Linked DNA regions of Homo sapiens: region 2 is linked to region 1. Evidence: promoter capture Hi-C in 16 types of primary human blood cells and fetal thymus (Javierre and others, 2016). All regions are on one chromosome and are shown on one strand. The core of a region is centred on a gene start or on the middle of the fragment in contact, and the rest is flanking DNA. Distances in the headings are between cores, read along the strand shown. Region 1 holds the start of RRAGA (Ras related GTP binding A). Region 2 overlaps HAUS6 (HAUS augmin like complex subunit 6).

Region 1 (5,430 bases), core at 719-3,218:
CGAACTCCTGATCTCAGGTGATCCTCCCACTTCAGCCTTCCAAAGTGCTGGAATTACAGGTGTGAGCCACCACGACTGGCTATAAAGTAGTATTCTGACCCACATTTTACCAATGAGGAAACAAGTGTAATGAAATTAAGTATTTGCCCATGTTCACAGAGCTAGTAAGTGAAGGGACCAGAATACTAACTCAGGTGGTCTAGCTTCAGTCCATAGCATAAGCGCTTCTACAGCTGTTACCAAACATCACTAAAGTGCTGGGGGCTAAATTCACAGAATCAAATTTGCCAGTCAAGCAATACTTGTGGGCAGTCAGAATTTTTAGATTTGCATATTAAGCACTTTCAAGTTATTTCAAATAAGGACATGTTTTAAATTGCTAACACGTTTATTCATGAATGAAGCCAAGAAGAATTTATAAATGCATTTTAATACCTTGCTGATAAAATAGTAACATTCCGTCTTTGCAATCTGATACGGAATACAGGAAGATACTGGTAAAGGCTTTGATGTGCATATCTATCATAACCAGGTAATGAGAACACACACGAACCACCTACTTTAGTGTTACACCATACCAACTTCTCAGAAAGGTCAGCTTCAAGCTCTACTGGGTAGCTGAGTAAATAGCGTCCAATGTTTAAAGACTGGGGAAGCGGGGAGAAAGATGAAAGGAGTAAGCAGCACACACTTCAAAGCCCACTTTTAAGCACACGACATTATGAATATTAAAAATAAAGGATGCAAACAAAAAAGGCAATTCAGCATTTTCAGAAAGAGCATTTGGCAATATTCAACGCATAAGGAGACTGTGCTTGGGGCCATCCACTCTCTCCAGCTTCTCAAAGTGTTTCCGGGCATTGCGAATGTTGATCAGAGTGGCCGCAGAAGGGATCGACGGATCTGACATGACCACCATCACGTACGTATTTGAGGTGAAGATGTCGATGAAAGCAGCGAAGTTGGAATTCCTAACTTCCATGCTCTGGAAGGAAGCGGCCAATTTACTGCAGCTCAGCTTGAACTGTTTGATGATGTTGCTGATCTTCTCAAACCGGTGGACGTCGCGCTGCTCTTTGCACTGGTAGTGGGAAATAACCAAGAATGTAGCTCTTTCGAACAGCAGAACTTCATCGGCCTCAATGATTTGGGCAAAATTCCTGAGGTTCATCTCCAGCTGCTGAACGTTGGGAATCAGCTGGTAGACGATGCTGGACCAGGCTTTGTAGAGCGTCTCATCCCAGATGGACGTTCGAAAACAAGCACACTCCAGCGGGCGAGACAGACGCCTCAGGTCTTCCTCTCGCTCTTTAAAAATCAGGTCACGCTGATCCTCCTGAACCAGATCCATTTTGTGCACCAGGCAGAAGATTTTGGCGTCAGGAGAGTTCTGGAGGATGGCCTCCAGACACGACTGGTAATAATGCATGTCCTTTTCCAGTTCGCGGCTCTCCACGTCAAACACGTAAATCAAAACTTCCACGTTACGGAAGATATTGTCTCGCTGGCTGGTGAAGTAATTTTCCATGAAGGTGTCCTGACCGCCACAGTCCCACAGGTTCAGCACCAGGTTCCCTAGGAATCGGACGTGGGAGTGTTCCACGTCAATGGTGGCCCCCAGGCGCCGGGTGTCGCGAGCAATGTAATTGGCGAAGATTATCGACCTCATGCTGGTCTTCCCCGACCCGCTCTTCCCCATCAGCAGCACCTTTTTCTTCATGGCTGTATTTGGCATCACCCGCCGGGGCACCGCGGACTGGGCCTGAGGGCGCGGCCTACACGCAGCGCCGAGGGAGGGGTCGGGGGCTGCCGGGGACTCGCAGGCCGCGCCTCGCTCCGCTCCGCCGCGCAGCTGGGCAGGCAGGAGAGTCGAGAGCGCGAACCCGGGGCTGGAGAGGCCGCGGACGGGCTGGCTCTTACTCAGATGGGAGCGCCCGCGGCTGTCAGTGGCAACGGCTCGGGAGATACGCTCGCTTTCCGGGAGGGAGCCGCTGCGTCCCCGCCACCACCCACTTCCGGCGGCGATCTCGCGAGAGCTCCCTCGCTCCGCCCTCCGTGCCCGACGAGCCTTGAAAAGCCGCTGCTCTAATGAAACCTAACCGGGGCGGCGTGAGCCCTAAGATGGAAGGGAAGCTCGAGGACTTCGGTCTTTTGTTCTGTTGCAGCTGGGTTTGCTGTTGCTAGGGGTACGTGTGTGGTTGGCCGGGGGAAATGCTGCCCTCTCGTGGCCAAAAAAAGCCCCAACCGCCACCACCACCGCAACTGGCTTTAGGAGCGAGGTGTGTCGGGCCGGTTTCCGCAGGGGCAGCCGACTGGTGAAGTGGAGGGAAAGCCTAACTTCCCAGTCCGCTTAGGCCTCCCCAGCTTGCCCGGCCCAGTGAGTACAAGGGCAGGGCAGATGGAGACTGTGCAGGCGCGGAAAGTGAGACTTGTAGGCAAGCGATTGCCTGTTGCTGCGCAGCTAGGTAATAGCAAGTCCCTCCTAGGAGACATCCTGGCTTCCAGTGGGTGCTTTTAATTCCTTTCTCACATCTGCTTTTCCGTAATCTCAGACTTTAGAATTTATAATTAGAATTCCAAAGCTCGAGGAAATGATAATGTGGAATCCCAGGCATTAGTTCCATCCTCACAGTAACCCTGTGAATTAATAACCCTATTTTCAAGTTAGGGAATCAAAGGTTAGAGAGGTTAAGTCACTTGACCAAGTTACACAGATACTAAATGATGAAATGGAATTTGGTTTTAGACAATCTTGCTGCGGTCTATTTGCCTAACAATAGGCTACCCTGTGCCCCTCTCAAAGCATAATATGATTCTGCTCTTGGTCTTCAAGTAGATGAGTGAATCAGTGTCGCCAGTATCGTTCATACAGAATGAATGAGAGTCATCAGGATACTGAAGCCTCTGTATCTACCTTAAAGTCCTTTTTTTTTCTTTTGAGACGGAGTCTCACTCTGTTGCCCAGGCTGGAGTGCAGTGGCGCGATCTCAGCTCACTGCAACCTACGCCTCCTGAGTTCAAGCGATTCTCCTGCCTCAGTCCCCCAAATAGCTGGGATTGTGGGCACCTGCCACCACGCCCGGCTAATTTTTGTATTTTTAGTGGAGACGGGGTTTCACTATGTTGGCCAGGCTGGTCTGGAACTCAAGCCAGCCACCTGCCTCGGCCTCCTAAAGTGTGGGATTACAGGCGTGAGCCACCGTGCCTGGCCTAAAGCCCTTATCAAAGTGTATACTGTACTGTACAAATTCAGGTATTCCATTCTTTCATTTATTCAAAAAATATTTTAATTCCTACTGTTAACGTGTGCAGTAAAAGAAGTTCAAAAATGGCCTTTGCTGTAGTTTATGGAAATCATAGAGTGAAATTCCATAATACAATATAGTATGTGGAAAATCTCCTCTCAATGTATTCAGTTTCATCTCCTTGGTGCTACCTCTTCTGGAGCCTTCTTATCTGATCGCCTTTCACCACCATTCTGGGGTTTCCCTTCCCCGTTCTTTCGAGTTGGGTATTCTTTTTCCTGATTTCACATCTTCTCATTTTTGGCTCATTTGGTGGAACACATGTTCCAATAGTTTCCAGATAAAAAGTATGAGGAGAGTAAAAATTTCAAGAGATTGGATGTCTGAAAATTTCTTTGTTTTTACCCTCACACTTGATTGGTTGGACATAATTTTTCCTCAGAGTCTTGGAGGCATTGCTCTGTTGCTCCATCGTCTTTTAGCAGCCAGTAGTCTGATGCCTGCTTCTTGGTTTTGATCTATTCTTTCCTCTCTAAAAACATATTCGAAATTTTCTTATTCTAGTGTTCTGAAACTTAATGATAATTGGCATTGTTGAGCCCAAATTTGCATTGTACTGGACTCTCCAATGTGTCTTTTAATTTGGAAACCATGCCCTTGAATTCTAAACAATGTTCTTGAATTGTTTGATGATGTATTTCCTCTATTCTGTCATGTGAATACTCCTAAGGTCTGGATATCACATTTTACGGAGTCTCCTCTAATGTATTTTTTTTCTTTTTTTTGGAGACAGAGTCTCACTCTGTTGCCCATGCTAGAGTGTAGTTGCACGATCTTGGCTCACTGCAACCTCCACCTCCTGGGTTCAAGAGATTCTCTTGCTTCAGCCTCCCAAGTAGCTGGGACTACAGGCCTCCACCACCATGCCTGGCTAAGTTTTATTTTTGTTTTTGTTTTTGTTTTGAGATGGAGTCTTGCTCAGCAGCCTAGGCCGGAGTGCAGTGGCACTATCTCGGCTTACTGCAACCTCCGCCTCCCAGATTCAAGCCATTCTCCCGGCTCAGCCTCCCGAGTAGCTGGTATTACAGATGCCTGCCACCATACCTGGCTAATTTTTGTATTTTTAGTAGAGAGGGGGTTTCACCATGTTGGCCAGGCTGGTCTCAAACTGCTGGTCTTAAGTGATCTGCCCGCCTCAGCTTCCCAAAGTGCTGGGGTTACAGGCATGCGCCACTGCGCCTGGCCTTCTTTTCTTTTTAAAAAAATTTTTTAAATTTATTTTTAGAGACAGGATCTTTCTCTGTCAACCAGGCTGGAGTGCAGTGGTGAGATCATAGCTCACTGCAGCCACCACCTCCTCGGCTCAAGGGATCCTCACATGCCAGCCTCCCAAGTAGCTAGGATTATAGGTGTGTGCCACTATGCTTAATTTTTTTTTTTTTTTTCTGAGACGAAGTTTTGCTCTTGTTGCCCAGGCTGGAGTGCAATGGCATGATCTCAGCTCACCACAACCTCTGCCTGCCGGGTTCAAGCGATCCTTCTGCCTCAGCCTCCCAAGTAGCTGGGATTGCAGGCATGTGCCACCTTGTCTGGCTAATTTTGTATTTTTAGTAGAGATGGGGTTTCTCCTTTCTCCATGTTGGTCAGGCTGGTCTCGAACTGCCGACCTCAGGTGATCTGCCCGCCTCGGCCTCCCAAAGTGCTGGGATTACAGGCGTGAGCCACCGCACCTGGCCTGCCTAATTTTTAAATATTTTTTTGGTAACCCTTTCTTATTTTCTATTTCTGTCTTTTTGTTCTACTTTCCAGGAGATTTTTCTCATCCTAATTTTCCAACTCTTTGGAGTTTTAAATTTTAATATCATATTTTTAATTTCCACAGGCTGTTCTAATTGTTCTTTTTAAAAACATAAAATTATTTTCTTGGATTAAATATATTCTTTTATCTCTCTGAGGATAATAGTAACATTAAGAAAAAGTTTTTATCCCGTTTAGTCTTGGTTTCTTCCAAGTTTCTTTTGTTTGTATGTTCTCCTTATGTTCTCCTTTTTTTTTTTTTTTTTTTTTGAGACGGAGTTTCATTCTTGTTGCCCAGGCGCAACGGCGCAATCTCTGCTCACCGCAACCTCCGCCTCCCAGGTTCAAGTGATTCTCCTGCCTCAGCCTTCTCCAGCAGCTGGGATTA
Region 2 (4,703 bases), core at 511-3,010, 35 kb before region 1:
CGCCATGTTGGCCAAGCTGGTCTTGAACTCCTGACCTCAGGTGATCTGCCCGCCTCAGTCTCCCAAAGTGCTGGGATTACAGGCATGAGCCACTGCGCCCGGTCCCCTTTCTTTTTATAGTACTATTACTTTTTTTTTTTTTAAAACTCATAGGTTGTATATATAAAGATATTGATAGAGTGCCTCTAAAACACTTGAATATAATGGAAAAATGAACTTATAGTTCATAAGCTTAATTATATTCAAAAGGGTTTTTAGACATGATTAATTTGAAATTCTCCACCCCAGTACAAAAAGCTCTGCTTGATTGTAGTATAACCTAGTCAGTGGTATTAATTTATCTAAATAAAATGGATTAACTGAAGGGAGATGTTAAGTATGAAAGGAAAATGAGGAATCAAAATGAGTCTGGTTTGGCAGGAGGGAGGATTCTGACAAATGAAAATGATCTGAGGCCTCCAGAGTTTGGCTTTGATGTGAGTTAAGTATTTTCTTAGGTTTTCTTTTTTTTTTTTTTTGGATAAAATCTCTCTCAAGCTCTTTGTTGTGATTCTGTGATTGCCATGCCAAGCTGCTGTGGGTATAAATTTGGCTTCCAAGGCACATTGTCACCTGTAAAGGTTAGCGCCCTCTTCAGGAAATATTTTTATTCAGTGAATGTATTGATCATCTGATATGTGCTAGGTATCTCGTAGACATTAGGGCTACAACAATGAGGAGAACAGGCAAGGCAAAGTCACTTCCTTCATGGAATTTTCCATTTAATGAATCTCTGATTGCAAATTATATAATTAAAATAATTTGCAGAACCTATTAAAGTTTTCACATCAGTCTCTTCTGAGTTTGGTTCATATTTGTTTTCCCTGAGTACAGTCAACTTTGAGCCATTGTCAAGATAAAAATCTAGACTTGGAAAATATGAGAACCAGATCCTGGACAATTACAGATTCATCAAGGAAATGCCATTCTGTGAGACCTCTAGACTGCTAGCCAATGAGTCTTCCTTTGGGAACAACTTTACCTTGCCATACAACATGTCAGAGATATTTAGGGTGGCACACACCTATAGTTTCACCTACTCAGGAGGCTGAGGCAGGAGGATTGTTTGAGCCCAGGAGCTCAAGGCTGCAGTGTGCTCTGGTTGTGCCAGTGGACTGTAGCCTGGGCAACAGAGCGAGACCCGTCTTAAAAAAGAAAAAAAAAAGAGGCGGGGGTACAGTGGCTCACGCCTGTGAGCACTTTGGGAGGCCGATATGGTTGGATCACTTGAGGCCAGGAGTTTGAGGCCAGCCTGGCCAACATGGTGAAACCCTGTCTCTACCAAAAATAAAAAAGTAGTCTGGTGTGGTGGTACTCACCTGTAGTCCCAGCTATTTGGGTGACTGAGGCACAAGAATCACTTGAACCTGGGAGGCAGAGGTTGCAGTGAGCCAAGATTGTGCCACTGCACTCCAGCCTGGGTGACAGAGTGAGACCTTGTTTCAAAAAAAAAAAAAAAGAAAAAAGAAAAAAAGTGAACTAATTAGAGATATTTAATATTGTATTTTTATCGTGCAGGAAGAACATGTGTATAATTATATTTCTCCACCTCCCTCCCTCTTTTGTAAATTCTGTTAATGCATAACATATATACAAGAAATGTGTAACTCATAAGTATATAGCTTGACAAATTTTCACAAAGTGAACAAGTCCATGTAACCATCATCATTTAAGGAATAGGATGTTACCAGCACCCTAGAATCCTCCTTGAACCTGTTTAGTTTACACTGTTTGCCCCCACGGGGAAACAGTGCCCTCACATGTTACACTAAAGATTAGTTTTGCCTGTTTTTGAACTTCATATAAATGCCAGTATATAGAATATATTCTTTTGTGTCTGACTTTGGCTCAACATTGTTTATGATATTTATCCATGCTGTTGTGTGTAATTGTAGTATGTTTATTCTCATTGCTGCTTAGTGTTCTATTTTATGAATATAGCACCAATGTACCCTTTTTACTCTGGATGGACCTTTGGATTGATTCTACTTTTTGATTGTTACAAATAGACATTCTATGAGTATTCTTTTTTTTTTTTTTTTTGCAAGGATCCTGGGCTTAAGGGATCCTTTTACCTCAGCCTTCTGAGTAGCTGGGATTACAGGTATGCGCCACTGTGCGTGCCTAAATATTCTTGTATATCAATTTTAATGAATATAGATTAGTATATGCCTAAGATTTTTTGCTTTTAATGAGGCATAATTTTTTACACTTTAACTTCCTCAAACTGAATGACTTAAAATTGAGATGTAGTAGTTTTTTTCTCTTGAAAAAAAATTTTTTTTTTTTTTTTGAGATGGAGTCTTGCTCTGTCCCCTAGGCTGGAGTGCAGTGGCGCGATCTTGGCTTACTGCAAGCTCCGCCTGCCGGGTTCACACCATTCTTCTGCCTCAGCCTCCCGAGTAGCTGGGATTACAGGCACCTGCCACCACGCCTGGCTAAGTTTTTGTATTTTTATTAGAGACGGGGTTTCACCGTGTTAGCCAGGATGGTCTCTATCTCCTGACCTCGTGATCTGCTTGCCTCGGCCTCCCAAAGGGCTGGGATTACAGACGTGAGCCACTGCGCCCGGCTTCTCTTGAAAAATTTTTAAAATTATTTCTCCCTGAATGATCTTCATTCGATTAATTACATGTCAGCATATAGAAAATGCTAATTGTATCTTGTATAAGATTTCTTAGATTTGGAGCTGGGTGCAGTGGTGCGTGCCTGTAGTCCCAGCTACTTGGGAGGCTGATGTGGGAAGATTGCTTGAGCCCAGGAGTTTGAGTCTGGCCTGGGCAACATAGTAAGACCCCATCTCTGAAAACAAAAAAATTCTTAGATTTGTTTGAAAATTATAGTGAGCTAGATTCTCCTGATACATTTTTTTAAAAATTCCCTTTGGAAATAATATCCAAAGGGACTTTTAAACTATTAAAGTATAATTATTTAATTTTCTTACTAGAAATCATTCTAGGAAATTTGTTACTAAGAGTGAACATACATTTACATTTTTAAAATATGTACAGATTATGTGTGGACTTTAATATTTTGTTTCTGTTTCCAAAGGTTCGGTCTTTGTGGGCTTCAGTGAATGAAACGCTCATGTTTTTGGAAAAAGAGAGAGAAGTTGTTAGTTCGGTCCTTAGTCTTGTTAACCAATATGCTTTAGATGGAACTAATGTTGCTATTAATATTCCAAGGCTCTTACTTGACAAAATTGAGAAACAAATGTTTCAGGTAAGCATTTGATATTAAGGAAGCTTTTGAGAAAACTCCTATCATGTAATTGTATATTTTCTTGCAATGTTCTTCTGCTTTCAGAATTTGTTTTTTGTTTTTTGTTTTTTGTTTTTTTTTTGAGACAGAATTTTGCTCTTATTGCCCAGGCTGGAGTGCAATGGCGTGGCGTGGTTTCAGCTCACTGCAACCTCCGCCTCCCAGGTTCAAGAGATTCTCCTGCCTCAGCCTCCCGAGTAGCTGGGATTACAGGCATGTGCCACCACACCCAGCTAATTTTGTATTTTTAGTAGACGGGGTTTCTCCATGTTGGTCAGGCTGGTCTCGAGCTCCTGACCTCAGGTGATCCACCCACCTTGGCCTCCCAAAGTGCTGGGATTACAGGCGTGAGCCACCGCACCCGGCCAGAATTTATTTCTATGAGTGTGTTTAGTAAAACTTTCATAAGGAGTGATACTGTTAAAGGTGTGTATATTTATATTCACTTTTATTAATTGCCCCTTACCTGTACAGTACTACATCATATAGTACAGACAGTATGAAGTTTCTTAGTAGGAAGATGATACTGTACTAGTTCATTATAAATTCTCAAAGGCAACAACAGTGATCTCCTAATTGCCAAATGTCCTTTTAAAAAGTCTCCATCCCCTGGTTTGTGTTTTATCTTGATGCTGTTAAGTGTTGCTTGTAAAGCAACATTAAATAATGTTCTCCATGGTTCTTTTAATGCCCTCTTTTTCTTTCCGTCATTATAAATGTATTTGTATTTTCTTACCAATTTCATGACTTCAGCAGTCTCTCCTCATCAACCCAAACTCCATCCAGTTATTTCCACTTGCTTATGGGACATTATCTGGATAGCTTACTTTTTTGTTTTCTTAGAAAACACAATTCATCAAGCATCTATTATATACTGGAGAGATACAAAGATAAAATATTGTTGTGACTCTCTGAAGAGAGACACTTCTTTAGTAGAGACGGGGTTTCACCATGTTGGCCAGGCCGGCTTAGAGCTCCTGACCTCAAATGATCCTCTTGCCTCGGCCCCCAAAGTGCTGGGATTACAGGCGTGAGCCAGTGTGCCTGGCCCATAATTTTTGTGTGAAATCTATGATTTAAAAAGTATTGGAAACTGTCTGGGTATGGTGGCTCACACCTATAATCCCAACACTTTGGGAAGCTGAGGAGGGTAGATCACTTGCGGTCAGGTATTGAGACCAGCCTGGCCAACATGATGAAACCCTGTCTCTACTAAAAATACAAAAATTAGCTGGGCATGGTGGTGCACATCTGTAGTCCCAGCTACTTGGGAGGCTGAGGTGGGAGGATCGCTTGAATGCTTGGGTCGGAGGCTGCAATGAGCCAAGATTGAGCCACTGCACCCAGCCTGGGAGACAGAGTGGGATTCTGCCTCAAAAAAAAAAATTAAAATTAAAATTAAA

What was found. The method cuts DNA at HindIII sites, captures the fragments that hold promoters and counts their contacts. A CHiCAGO score of 5 or more calls a contact.
Region 2: a contact is called between a fragment that was not itself captured here and the fragment with the promoter of RRAGA in region 1, in 1 of 17 cell types (neutrophils). The highest score is 6.0, in neutrophils.

What each region holds. Positions count from the first base shown.
Region 1 is chr9:19,045,965-19,051,394 of GRCh38, reverse strand. RRAGA (Ras related GTP binding A) reads right to left here and starts at 1,968. Exons shown (of 1, transcript NM_006570.5): 1 at 370-1,968. The coding sequence starts at 1,735. The coding sequence ends at 794. It also overlaps a transcript of SAXO1 not described here. RefSeq lists a silencer at 1,710-1,899 and an enhancer at 1,507-2,028. The HindIII fragment of the contact is 15,757 bases long and covers 1-5,430 here.
Region 2 is chr9:19,081,431-19,086,133 of GRCh38, reverse strand. HAUS6 (HAUS augmin like complex subunit 6) reads left to right here. Exons shown (of 17, transcript NM_017645.5): 8 at 3,091-3,261. Among named protein-coding and RNA genes, the nearest start is that of HAUS6, 19 kb to the left of the region's middle. The HindIII fragment of the contact is 3,053 bases long and covers 234-3,286 here.